Regions from separate parts of the Homo sapiens genome. Here regions 2 and 3 are each linked to region 1. Evidence: promoter capture Hi-C in human tissues and cell types (Jung and others, 2019). All regions are on one chromosome and are shown on one strand. Each heading gives the region's core, a stretch centred on a gene start or on the middle of the fragment in contact. The rest is flanking DNA. Distances are from core to core; before and after follow the strand shown. Region 1 holds the start of PTPN9 (protein tyrosine phosphatase non-receptor type 9). Region 2 holds the start of FBXO22 (F-box protein 22). Region 3 holds the start of UBE2Q2 (ubiquitin conjugating enzyme E2 Q2).

Region 1 (4,540 bases), core at 638-3,137:
AAACCATGAACTGAATTCCTTCCCAAAGTTAGTTCGGCCTATGCCCAGGAATGAACAAGGACAGCTTAAGGGTTAGAAACAAGATAGAGTCAGTTAGGTCTGATTTCTTTCACTGTCATAAAATCATCAGTTATAATTTTGCAAAGGCAGTTTACCAGGAGTTTGAGACCAGCCTGGGCAACATAGTAAGACCCCTATCTCTACCAAAAAAAAAAAAAAAAAAATTAGCCAGGTGCAGTGGTGTGCACCTGTAGTCCCACCTACTCAGGAGGCTGAGGCGGGAGGATTGCTTGAGCCCAGGACTTTGAAGCTGCAGTGAGCTGTGATCACGCCACTGCACTCCAGCCTGGGCAACAAAGTGAGACCCTGTGTTAAAACAACAACAACAACAACAACAACTTTGGGAGGCCGAGGTGGGCGGATCACGAGGTCAGGAGATTGAGACCATCCTGGCTAACATGGTGAAAGCCCGTCTCTACTAAAAATACAAAAAAATAAAAAAAATAAAAATAAAAATTAGCCGGGCGCGGTGGCGGGTGCCTGTAGTCCCAGCTACTTGGGAGCCTGAGGCAGGAGAATGGCGTGAACCTGGGAGGGGGAGCTTGCAGTGAGCCGAGATCGCGCCACTGCACTCCAGCCTGGGTGACAGAGTGAGACTCCGTCTCAAAAAAAGAAAAACAAAAAAGCCAGGCGCGCGGTGGCTCACGCCTGCCTGTAATCCCAGCACTTTGGAAGACCGAGGCGGGCGGATCACAAGGTCAGGAGTTCGAGACCAGCCTGACCAACATGGTGAAACCCCGTCTCTACTAAAAATACAAAAATTAGCCGGGCGTGGTGGCTCGCACCTGTAATCCCAGCTACCCAGGAGGCTGAGGCAGGAGAATCGCTTGACCCCGGGAGGTGGAGGTTGCAGTGAGCCGAGATCGCGCCACTGCACTCCAGCCTGGGCGACACAGAGACTCCGTCTCAAAAAAAAAAATAAAAAAAAAATCATAGGAGCATCACAACTCACAGCACCTTCCTGTTGTCTGAAGGCCCCTCCTTTGGGTCCCTCAGGACTGGCTCCAGGGCTTCAGCCTTGGAACTAGTTGTGGACTTTGGGTCCCTTTGGAATATTTATCTTTGGCTTGGAATAATGCAACAACGTACCAGACCCAGCCTTGCCTTCTCTATGCCCCATTCCTCCCCAAATGACTCCAAGACTGTACCCCTAATCCTGAACCCTTTGCTGCACTTGCCCTAGTGAAAATCAAAGGTCTGCAAAGGCCGCGTCATTCCTGAATGATGTTCGGAGTCTGATGTCGTTTCTATGGGGGATTAAAATTAGCGACACTGGAGATGAATTACAGGGTGCAGCCAGTAAGGAGGGAGAGAGAGGGAGGCAGGTGCGATTCCTTCCACCTAAGCATCCTGGCCTGGCAGGCAACCTTTCCAGGGTCTTTCAGGCTGCAAGCGACAAATAGTTGAGGATTGTGGGTTTCTCACGCGTAGGTGGCAGCGGCAAGTTAACCCCAGGAGAGGTGCCAGTCAGCAGATAATTTGCAAACGAACGTATTCTCCTCCTCCTCCGAGGATCTGAGCCTCACGAAATACTCTTTTCTTCCTTTTTCTCCCTCCCGCAGTCGAGTTGCCTTCCGTCCAGCTAGGGTCCCCTCCCCGCCCGGGTCCCCTCCCCCTCCCGGTCCCCTCCCCCGCCCGGGCTCCTCTCTGTCTCCCCCTCCCGGACTGCGTCCTCGCTCCGCCGGGCCCTCCTCGCCGCCAGCTTGTGAATGAGACGCTCAGTTTCTCAATGGAGCCGCGGGGGGCTCGGGCGGCCGCGGGGCGGCCGCAGCGTTGGCCGTGAGTCAGGAGGGGGGCGCGTTTCCCTCGCTCCCTCTCCACTCCCTCCCTTTCGCTGCGGCCGCCCGCGAGGAGCCTGGCTGAGGCAGCCGCGCAGGTCGCAGGGCCAGCGTCCGCGAGGACGGCCCGGCTGGGCGGCCCCGAGCTCTGTGGCGCTGTGGAGGAGCGGGAGCGCGGCCGAGGAAGCGGGGCGCCGAGGGGGTCGGCGGCCTTCGGGAAATTTCCGCCGACCCTTCGCTCCCGGCTCTAAAAGTTCCTGATTTCCTATTTCCTTTTAAATCCCGAGTGGCTGTTAGCTCTTCGCCTGCACTTTTTCTTCCCCAGGAGATAAGGGGGAGTGTGAGGAACGGAGCGAATAATATAAAAAAGGATTTCCTCCCGGAAGAGAGCGGCAGTTCGGAGAGATTTTTCTTAAGGAAGCAGAAGCGGCGTTTGCGGCCGCTGCAGGCGCCGGGCCCTGCCGGCCACACTATGCGCGAGCCGGCCCCGGGCTGCTGAGGCGCGGGGACGCGGAAGCGGAGGCCGAGCGCGCCGGGCTCCCGCGCTCGCGAGCGAGTTTTGTCCGCCCGGCGGCGGTGGCGGGGGGATGGAGCCCGCGACCGCGCCCCGGCCCGACATGGCGCCGGAGCTGACCCCGGAGGAGGAGCAGGTAAGCGGGCCCGAGGCCGCCGCGTTGGGTGTGTCCGGGCCCCCGAGGCCTACGCCGGCCTCTGCCTCCCGAGTGCCGGCTCTTTGCAGCCACGGGGCCGCAGCCCCCCGCTCCCGTGCCCGGCTCGCGGGCCTCCCTCACCGGCGACCGCGCCCCAGGCCGCCACCCCCTCGTCGGGGGACCCACGGGACCCTACTCCCGTTCCCGCCGCTTCTTTCGCCGAGGCTTACCAGCCTCAGACGGTGCCCTCCGCACCCCACCCCCTATTCCAGGGGCAAAGTTCCTTGGATCCAGGGGCCTTCTTCCCGAGATTTGCAGAACCGCTGCTTGCCCCCGGCCCTTCCACTCCCTTGTAAATGTTTTCCGTGAGGGTTTGTGGCTTTTGAAGGGCAGGAAAAGCCCCAGTTTGGGGGGTGCTTCCTGTGGGGATTATCTCCCTTCCCGAGGAGAGGGCTGAGAGTATTGGATGCATAGATGCCCTAGATTTTCAGAGGAGCCTCTTAGGTTTCTCAGGCCCACTTGGGCAGGTTATGGAAGATCCAGCCCTTCTCGTGTTCCTAAAGTCCCTGGCCTTGACCCCCCTATTCAGCTATCCCAGACGGGGCGCATCTCCTCACCCGCGCTTCCCTACCCTCGTCTCATCTGACTGTCTCCATCTTTCTGAAGCTTACATTGAGCTCTATTGTTCCTTAAAAGCCTATGACCTTTAGTTTTCAGAAGGAAGTGGTTTGCTGTCTCATTTTGGGGGCCCTTGTAACTTTCCCTCCCGCACATTCCAGCTGCGGAGACAGGGACCACTCCTGAGGAAGATGGGAAGGTCTGCTAGCTTAGACTGGGAACCCTACGGGCTTTTCGCTGTCTCTTCCTTGGCACTGCCCATACCCCGCCATAGCTATGCTCGATTATAGTCATAGTCTGATTCCATGTTATAAATAAAAAAAATAAAAATAAACATGAAAAAAGAAAAAGGCAAACCATGCTGGCAACCCATTTCAAGCTCTACAGCTCTTGTTTCCAAGGACCACATTTGCTAGCACAGCCTCTAGTGTGAAGACAGTCCAGTTTTACAAACTATTATTGGCTAATGGGCTTGTTGACCTGATTTTTTAAAGTCCTTGTCTTTTCTCCTTATTTGTGGAGATGACATTTTTCTATTTGGCCTCAGGCCACGGTTTTGTCTTTTGACACCTGGTGATGAAATCTGTATGGGAAAAAAATTTAAAAAGAATTCTGCTTTGTACAAGCAGTGGTAATGAATGTCCTGGTAACTGCAGTTGGATGTTAATAAAATGCTAGTCAGACCCTAGTGCAAGCAGGTGGCCAAGGAGCCCATTCTGCCAGAATTGGGAAGTACTTCAGTACTAAGATAGGATGTGTTGGCTGATTTTAAAGGGACAAAATCTCTTTCTTTCATCCTTTTCCTTGGGTCAGTCAGATTTCTGTTTTTAAGACTTAAAGCCATCAGTATTCTATGCAAATAGCATCCGTTGCAAATTTGAAAACTAAAACCAGGAAAAGTAAATATTAAAGTATTGATAGTATTGACATGGTATTGGCTTTACTTTGTACATAGTGCATACACATATATACAGATGTGTTTAACTAGTAAAAACCTTATCTTTTACCCTGAATTGAATGTGATGGGCATTAACAAGGACTAGGATGGAAACGGCAAAATGTTTATTAAAGTCAAGAGATTGTGTGTGTGTGTGTTTTTAAAATCTTATCTCTTTTTTCTACAAAATATTATTTTTTTACAAGCATTTCAAAATATTGAAACAAAAGCAGTATAGTTCTAATTATGGTAATGCCTAATGTTACCATATTTTAGTTTAATATCACATAAGAGTACTCTCTTTTTTTTTGAGATGGAGTTTTGATTTTTTGTTTGTTTGTTTGTTTTTTTGAGACAGAGCCTCGCCCTGTCATCTAGGCTGGAGTGCAGTGGCCTGATCTTGGCTCACTGCAACCTCTGCCTCCAGGGTTCAAACGATTCTCCTGCCTCAGCCTCCCGAGCAGCTGGGATTACAGGCGCCTGCCACCATGCCCAGC
Region 2 (4,540 bases), core at 1,253-3,752, 320 kb before region 1:
TATACATACTTATATTCCTTGGCTCTAATGACTGGGCTTTGGAGCAGCAAATCCCTCAATGGCAAGGAGTACACTTAGAGAGTCTAGACCTTGATTTCTAAATACCACACTCCATCAAAAGGAGCCAGGGCTTAATGGCCAATTCCAGGACCAAGGCAGGTAAAACCCAAGACAAGCTTAGAACATCTTGTGCCAGAAAACAAGAAAAGTGCTCAAAGATAATGGAGTCATCTCTAAAAAGACACTGAAGCCAGCCTGAAGGAGCTCCTACTAGCCAAACTAGGGGGTGAGAGGGGTAATTTGAGCACCAAAATACAGTAACAGATTATATCCCACTGAATTAAATAAGACTCCGAGAGTGTACAGATATAAATAAATAAATGAATTGAAACACGATATTTACATAGTTTCAAATGATCTCTTCACAAAACAATCATTACAGTAGAAGAGTGATTTTAGTGAAGACACTTGGCAAGCATCGCCTTAATTGAGTAATCAAAGGTAATACCACCAATAACAAGACGAATGGAAATCACATGCCACCTAAAGTATGCCGTGAAAAAAGCACAGCATCACTTCTGTGATTATTTCCTGCCAAAGACACAATTGATGGATGTTCTACAAAATAGCCTGTGATTTTCCTAAGTGTCAAGATTGGGAAAAATCAAGCAAAGCTTGAGAAACTGTTCCAGATCAAAGGAGATTAAAGAAACAGGACTTACTCAGAGCAAATTGCAATTGGGAACAGATCTTTTTGCCATGAAGAACCTTACTGGGACAACTGGCAAAATCTGAACCGAGTCTGAGGATAAAATGGTAGAAATGTATCAGTGATAATTTCCTGATTGTGACGGCTGCACCGTAGTTATGTCTGTCTGTAAGCCGTACTAAAGTAAACAGAGTGACAGAGCAGCAGGTTGGCACTTTACTGTCAAATGGTTCCCTTCCACTCCCCAGAGATGGTACACCCTGCAGCCCCTCTGACTCCACAGTTCGAGTCTTCATCTCTCCTGGTGTTGGCTCCCCTTTTGAAGTTGGGGGCCAGAGAAGCAAAAGAGTACAGGATCAGAAGTTGAAATATTTGGCTTTAAGTTTTGGTTCTTGGCTTTCTAGGTGTGCTCACTGAGCAAGACACACCCAGTTGTCTTCCCGGTAAAACAGACAACAAAAAGTTGCTTCAAGGGAAGCAGGTGAAGGGAAGGTTCTGCACAGCGTTGTTGTTAATAGTGAAAATGTGGATACTTAAAAGGCCCAACATGCCGGGCGCGGTGGCTCACGCCTGTAATCCCAGCACTTTGGGAGGCCGAGGCGGGCGGATCACGAGGTCAGGAGATCGAGACCATTCTGGCTAACACGGTGAAACCCCATCTCTACTAAAAATACAAAAAATTAGCTGGGCATGGTGGCGGGCGCCTGTAGTCCCAGCTACTCGGGAGGCTGAGGCAGGAGAATGGCGTGAACCCGGGAGGCGGAGCTTGCGGTGAGCCGAGATCGCGCCACTGCACTCCAGCCTGGGCCACAGAGCGAGACTACGTCTCAAAAAAAAAAAAAAAGGCCCAACATTTGATGAACGGTCAAATAAATCATGACACATCCTTACCGTGTAGTCACTAAAACTGATGTTTACAAAATCTTTTCACGGAACGAGATGTTCCTTTAATTAACAAAACTGGGATTTAAAAAAAAATAGTTCTCAAAGACTGAACCACCAACCTGCAAATGACTGTGCATGACACCCCTTGCTACTTGCCTCAAGCTCCTCTGCTACCACGCGAACCAAGCAATGCCCCTCCAGGTGGCCGGCCTCCGCCAGGCCTGCGGAGATCCAGGTTACGCTCCGATGGGTCCGCAATACTCTGCGCACACACTCCCTCCATAAGCGGCACACGCTGAGGACGCAAACGCACAAAGGATTGCGAACGGACGTTCATTTTCGTCTCTCCCACAGCTCACAAACCCCCACCCGCTGGCGCAGCAGCAGGAGATCCCTGCGGGATCCAAAGTCCCCGGGGTAGGTAGGTGTCAGTCAGGGCGCTAGTTCGGAAGAAGAGCCAGATATGGAGAAAACCTTAAGGGGAACTTCGCCCCTCAGGGAAGTCCCCCCGGGGCACCACGGCTGGGAGATACCTCGCGGGTAGGGGGTCACCTCAGGTAGGGCGAGCGAGCCGGGGACGGCCCTGGTGGGTCCCAAGGGTCTCTCCCCCCACCCCGCCAGCCTGGGACATGCCCACGGCGTGTCCCCAGGCAAGCTTCCCGCCTCCGCCTCCTCTCCTCACCAGGCCACCCGCAGCAACGCCTTGGCGGGCAGGAAGGTGAGCACACGCTCCACCACCTCCGCCAGGTTACTCAACACGAAGGTGCTCCGCGGGTCTACGGAGGAGCCGCGGCACTCGCCGCAGCAGCCTACCGGCTCCATTCCTCACCAGCCCGCCGGAACCAGTCCTACGGCGGCTCGGAGGAACCCGATTACGCCAGCATAGGGTTGCCCGGCCGGCGCGCACTGAGCAGGCGTCCGCGCCACTTCCGGCTGGACGGGGAAGGTGGGCGTGGCAACGCCGGTGCGTTCCCTCGTCTGGAGCCCGTACTCCGAGGTGTACTCCGTTCCGTAATACGCTCGGAACTGTTTTCTTCATTTTTGAGATTGGGTCTAATGCTGTGGCCAGGCGGGAGTGGAGTGGCGCGGCCTCTGCTCACTGCAGCTTCTACCTCCCAGGCTCAAGCGATCCTCCCGCCTCAGCCTCCCTCGTAGCTTTAACTACAAGCTCCCGCCACCACGCCCAGCTAATTTTTGTATTTTTTGTAGAGACGGGTTTCCAGGCTGGTCTGAAACTCCAGGGCTCAAGCGATACTCCCGCCTGGGCCTCCCAAGGTGCTGGAATTACAGACATAAGCCACCGCTCCTGGCAACTTTCTAGGAGGCCTCCTGCAGTGAAAATAAATTCTTCTTCTGTGCCTGTGCCTCTCACTGCCCTGGCACCGCCATATTTCTGAGTTTACATCTTTCTCTAATTCACAAATTCCTTGCAGGGACTAGGTAGTACTTATTGCTCTTCGTAGTCCCAATGCCTGTTTAAATAGCATAAGCTCGATTTATAAACGGACGTTTGCTTTTAAAAAATTGTCTTAGTGTGTGAAAATCACTGCCTTTATTCCTTGTAAACTTAGTTAACTCGTTGTAATCTTCAGGTTTAAAGTTTCGAATGAGTAAAATGGCATAAATAGCACCTGCCATTCTAAGGTAGCTGAGTGAGATGATTGCTGTGAAGCACGCCCCAAGCTGTGCACCAGTTCCCCGCCAGGGACATCAGATTCACCTGGAAACTACTAAGTTTTAGCACATTCCCGGTCCTTATCCCAGACCTCCTGAATCAGACACTGGGGGTGAGGCCCAGCAATCTGTTTTAACACACTTTATGACGATTCTGATGCATGCTCAAACTGAGAACCACCAAGAAATGGAAGCACAGCAGACACAGGTTTGTCCCCACCTAACATCCATTCCTCCCGCCAATTCCTTCCTAAGGGAGCCCTGATTTGATCGCCAGATCTTGGGCAGAAACTTGGTCTAAATTAGCAGTTCTCATTATGGCCTCAGGACCCTTTACACCCTAAAATATTGACACGACCAATAGTTTATGTGTGTTATGACTATCAATATTTACCATATTAAAAATTAAATCAGAACATCTTAATGCTTAACTCTTTTTAAAAAACCGATGTTATACATTAACGAAATATTTTTATGGAAAACAATTATTTCCCAAATCCTCCTTCCCCCACTGGTGGATAGTATGACATTGTCAGTGGCATAAGCCTCCTGAGTAGCTGTGGTTTTTTTCTTTTTTTTGGTAGACCCAGGGTCTATGTTGCCCAGGCTGGTCTCAAACTCCTGGCCTCAAGACATCCCTCTGCCTCCGCCTCCCAAAGCGTTGAGATTACAGGTATGAGCCACCAAGCCCAGCCAGTTTTTTCCCATAGTCTATTTATAGGCGCAGCTGCTTAAGGAAGCCAGATGGCCCAGATGTCACCAGAGCTTCCTGACCCCTTGCGGAATACCAGAGGAAGATAAACAGGCGCCCTCCAGTTACCTTTAGATAATTAACATAATGCTAAAATCCTCTCCCTAAAGAAAGCTCACTGGCATCTTACGAACATGGATGTATGAAGCAGCATGTTCAGGGACTATGCCTGCTTGTCTGGAACTCCAGTCTGTGCATGCCGTTCATACCTCCCCCGCCCCTCAGCTAACTCTTTAAACTCCCCAGCCTCCCATCCCTCTGGGAGAAGGTGCCTTTAGAGTATGAGCTCCCCTTCTCCATTCTCTGGCTACTGAATGAAACCTGACTGCCTTTCAAAGTGGGCGTTCTTTCTTTGTGGCTGATATAAAGTAGGGAAAGAGGACAGTTTACCAGTGACGGCATCACTACATTTTTGCAAATATTTAATTTGTCTTAATAGAAGACAAATAGATTCTCATATTTGCTTCTGAATTCAATCTGTTGCAAAATCACATCATGTAGCCTCTGGAAAATTCCATTGT
Region 3 (4,540 bases), core at 2,041-4,540, 260 kb before region 1:
ATTTGAACTGTCTAAAGAGGAAAAGTTAAAGAATAAGTCAAACTCATTACCTTTTCCAGAGTTACAACTTTAGAGAATAACAAATCATCGATCAAACCAAATCATTTGAAATCCAACCCCATTTTTCCCTTGATCTTTCCCTTCTAAGCAAATGGTATCGACATGAACAAGCCATGTCATTTTATCAAAACAGTCATCCATGTTTAAAAGAGTCTTTACGGCCAGGAACGGTGGCTCACTCCTGTAATCCCAGCACTTTGGGAGCTTGAGGTGGAGTTCAAGACCAGCCTGGCCAACATGGTGAAACCCCGTCTCTACTAAAAACACAAAAATTAGCCGGGTGTGGCGGCGGAAACCTGTAATCCCAGCTACTCGGGAGGCGGTGGCAGCAGAATTGCTTGAACCTGGGAGGCGGAGGTTGCAGTGGGCCCAGGTCACACCACTGCACTCCAGCTGGGACGACACAGCGAGACTCCGTCTCAAAAAATAATAATAAAAAATAAAAGAGTCTTTTACCTTCAAAAGATACAAGCAGAAATATTTACAGATGAAGTGATCTGTCTGGAATCTGCTTCAAAATAATCTAAAGTGGAGTACAGATGAAGATTAGCCAAAAGTTTATCATTGTTGAGGCTGGCTACATTACACTGTTCAACTTTTGTACATTTGATGATTTTCCATAATAAAAAGTTAGCAGACATTTGTACTGAGCAGCTGCCATGATAATTATCTCCTGATAGTCTGTCATATTTCACTAGCAAGTCAATTTTAATAGTTTCTACCTAGCGGTGGGTGCCATTACACTAGTCCTCACTAAATCCTCCTTGTACTGAAAGTGTCTCATTCACTTCTTGCTCCATTTCTGTTGCCACTGCCTAATCCAGGTCATCACTCCTTATTTTTATCTGCAGCAGACTCTTACCAGCCTTCAATATGGTTCTCGATGGGGCACCAGTGGCACTTTAGGTGGGATAATTCTTTGCTGTGGCAGACTGCCTGAACGTTGCAAAACATTTGGTATCCCTGTACTCCTAGCACTAAATGCCGGCACAGCAATAAGACCACCCCACCCCCACTGGGATAACCACATTTCCTAATGCCACCCACTGTAGAGAACCATTTCTAATCCTGGATGAAAGATACATTCTCCCAACTTACCTGAGTAAACTTAGTAGCTCCCCACAGCCTACAAATTCAGTCTCCTATCATTCAAACCAGCCCTACCTTTTCGTGGCCATGCCCCAACTTCTACCAGAGTAATCACCCTCGAAGCCATTCAGGCCCGTCTCCTTAAAACACCTGCTTCATGACAACTACTACACTTTCTGTTTTCCACTCTTGGAAAATCCTCCCCTTCTCCAGCCTGTATCGTGGGCTTCTCAAGTCTTAGCATAAATTTTCTACTTCTAAGGAAACCACACTTTCTCAAATCTCCGTGTCTTCTTTGGGTGGAGTTTCCTCAGTCTAAAATGCCCTTCCGCCAGCCTTCCAAAATTGTAGTCACCTGTGGAAGCTCATCTCTAACTGTCTCAGCCTCTCATCAAAGCCTTCCCTGAAGCGCACCTCCCCCAAGTCAAAATTAGTTGCTTTGGCTTTCCTGATGATACCACAGGAGCTGTCACCTTATTGAACTCTTCCCCCAAGAAGACTGAGTTCTGAGAGCGAGGACGACTTCACTCAATTCTGCAACACTAGTGCCCAGAACACTCAGACGTATTCATTCAATAAATGAATTATCTCCTCAGTACAGCACTTGTCTTTTTTTTTTTGAAATTAACACACCTTCTGCCCAGATAGTCTGGTAACCATTTTAAGGTCAATTATAACATCAAGGTTTTTGCAAACGCCAGCCACCCTGCAGGCACTTGAGTACCCACTGACTCAACCAAAGGGAGTTAAAAACAAGACTTGGTTTTAGCCATGTTTGAAAAGGAGCCCGAAGCCACCACCTTGACGCCTATTATAACCAAGAGAATATTCTGCAGTTTGGACCAATATCCTACATCAATTTCACGACGAATAGCTTCACGATACACTTTTATGGAGAAACTTAATACTTCAATTCCTTTACCAAGCCTTGGGTTTCTAATGAGATTTCCGCTTAATGAGTGAGTTTTTAAAAGTGTCTTTTCGGCTTTGTGACATACGTGATCTTTCCGGGGAGCAGCCCTGGCGCGTATCTCCTTTCACCTATCCATTTTCGAGGCTTACACACAAGGGAGGGGCCACACGAATACACACTCAACACCACCTGCCGCAACGACGGTACTATGCTCCTTTCCAGAACACAGCAGCGCGCAGCCAGGCCCGGGGGAGAGGGGTCGCTCAAACAGCACCAGAGTCTGCATTCCAACTTTTCCTCCGTCAACGAGTCCATTCTCATTGTCAGTTTCTCCTTAAACGCAAACTTAAAAACAATTGGCTGAACAAGCGGGAAGAAGGAAAATCCGACTGAAAAATGAGGCGTTAAAACTTAAGGGCCGTTCCCCTTGCCGGCCTGGGCTCAAACAACAGCCGGAGCTGCGCCGCCCCGCCCCGCCCCGCCCCGGTCCCGGGAGCAGGCCGGCTGAGGGCGGCCATGGACCCCACAAGGGCTTGGGCCGCCGCGGACTCCCCCCTCGGGGCTAGGAGACGGGGACCGAGATGGGCCAGAAGCCCCCAAGCCAGCCCCTGGCGAGAAGCCGGAAAGACGCGCCCTCCGCCTCCTCCCACCCAAGCCTCGCGCAGTCCCAGCCCGGCCTGGGATGGGCAAGTCGCGGGGGAAAGGGGCGGGCCTGCCCCGCCCGGGGAGCCGGAGCCTCTCCGGGGCAGGCTCCCCTTTGTCCCGGGACTCGAAGCGCCCCCTCTCCGTCCTCGCCCTGCCCCGCGGGGCCGCGGCCGGGCGCCTCACCGTGATGTTGCAGTGGAGCGTGAGTGGCGGCGGCAGCGAGTGCGGGCTGCCCTGCTGCGGCACCAGGAACTGGCAGTGCAGCTCGTCCAGCTTCCAACTGACGATGCGGAATCGCTCGTGGTTCTTGTCGAAGATGGACGCCAGGAACTTCAGCTCGGCCTTGAGCCCTGACACGGACATCTTCCCCTCATCTCCGGCGGGAGGGGCGCGGAAGGGGAGCCGGGCGCGGAAGGGGAGCCGGGCCCGGAGCCGCCGTCACGGCCGCGACCGCCCCGCGGGGCCGGCCTGGGCCGCGCTCTCGCGGCTCCGCCTCGTCGAGCGCTGCTGGAAAATGGCGAGGGGCGCGGAAGCCTCGGCGTGTGGCGGCCTGGGTGGCGCTTCCTTTGTAACCGACTCCAGCGGCAGGAGGCGGCGGCCCCGCGGCTTAAAAGGGCAACAGCGACGCCGCCCCCGCTACCGCCTGGGAAAGGGCTGCCCCCACCCCGCCCCCGTCCCCCTCACCCTGGCGCGCCCTGCGCGCTCCGGTTTCAGCGCGTGCACGAGGCCAGAGCGCGCGCGCCCGGCCGCCCCCTCCTCGCCTTGACCCAGCTCCCTTGTTCCCGACCCATCTGCTCCGTTCTTCGCACCCGCGGACTGGAGGCTCGGGGCCAGCTGGCGCCCGGGCCCCAGAAGTCGGGGAGGAGCCGGAGACCCCCGCGCGCCCCCGCCCCCGGCCTGGAGCCGGACACGTGCGTGGCGGATCGCGCCGGCCACGTCGGCGCCGCTGCAGACTAGCGCCAGCCCCTGGGGGCGGCTCCTCAGCTTGGCGCTCGGCGCGGCACCCGCTAACCTCACTGGGGGGACCTCGTGGGAGACGCGGGTGCGGCTCACCCAGCGTTACCTCCGCTACTTTCACCCTAGTCCGAGCCACCGCTTCGCTAGCCTGGGTTCCTGTGAGGACCTTCTCACCAGCCTGGGTTCCTGTGAGGACCTTCTCACCGGACTCGCTGCTCCCGCCTTTGCTCTCAAACCATCCATTTACCCAAGACGATGGTTTAGCCCCTGGAGGCTGTTGCCTGGAGGTGTCCCATGATTTCATCCCTTCCCTTAGCTACCACCTGTGTTCACTCTGCCGTATATAGTCTCTCTCTCCCCCCTTTCCTTATTTTGCCTTGTTTCCCAAGCTTAAGATAACCCTCCCCACCCACACCCCCATGGAGCTAGGGCTGCCCACTATTTTCACTAAACTCATAGCTCAAATATCATCTCCGGCACCCCCCACCACAACCCATTTCAAATAGTCACCCTGTGTCACATCGTCCTGTGCTAAGTTTTTGTTGGGCACCTGTCACTATCTGATCTTTAACCCATTTATTCCTTGTCTCTGCCCCGTGTTAATGTGTTCAGAGCTGTATCCCCAGGACCTAGAACAAGACCTGTTATATAGTAGAAACCCGATATGATTGAATTGAATGCTCGCTCTTATCTGGAATCCCCACCACTAGCACAATTCCTGGCACATTGTAGGTGCTCAAAAAATGAATAAAGGTCTGGATAGCAGTCCAAAGGAATACATCCCAATTTGGCAGACAATAGTGTGTGCAATCGTAAGTGCAAGAGGCAGGACCAGCTGCATATGCGTCCAACCTATGTAGTTGCACAGTGCTCCCA

Evidence for each region. Contacts are between HindIII fragments. The study calls those that stand out against the background at their distance.
Region 2: the fragment with the promoter of FBXO22 here is called in contact with the fragment with the promoter of PTPN9 in region 1 in 1 of the 25 tissues and cell types used here (IMR-90 fibroblasts).
Region 3: a contact is called between the fragment with the promoter of UBE2Q2 here and the fragment with the promoter of PTPN9 in region 1, in 1 of the 25 tissues and cell types used here (heart right ventricle).

The regions. Positions count from the first base shown.
Region 1 is chr15:75,576,662-75,581,201 of GRCh38, reverse strand. It overlaps PTPN9 (protein tyrosine phosphatase non-receptor type 9), which reads left to right and starts at 1,887. Exons shown (of 13, transcript NM_002833.4): 1 at 1,887-2,488. The coding sequence starts at 2,426. RefSeq lists silencers at 1,530-2,019, 2,280-2,679 and an enhancer at 1,722-2,320. The HindIII fragment of the contact is 16,601 bases long and covers 1-4,439 here.
Region 2 is chr15:75,901,840-75,906,379 of GRCh38, reverse strand. FBXO22 (F-box protein 22) reads right to left here and starts at 2,502. Exons shown (of 7, transcript NM_147188.3): 1 at 2,277-2,502; 2 at 1,751-1,889. The coding sequence starts at 2,416. RefSeq lists a silencer at 2,111-2,180 and enhancers at 2,231-2,280, 2,301-2,400, 2,017-2,674, 2,761-2,850, 2,675-3,334. The HindIII fragment of the contact is 6,006 bases long and covers 1,463-4,540 here.
Region 3 is chr15:75,842,197-75,846,736 of GRCh38, reverse strand. It overlaps UBE2Q2 (ubiquitin conjugating enzyme E2 Q2), which reads right to left and starts at 3,290. Exons shown (of 13, transcript NM_173469.4): 1 at 2,891-3,290. The coding sequence starts at 3,070. RefSeq lists silencers at 2,480-2,879, 3,130-3,209, 3,350-3,489, 3,530-3,709 and an enhancer at 2,311-3,208. The HindIII fragment of the contact is 12,421 bases long and covers 1-4,540 here.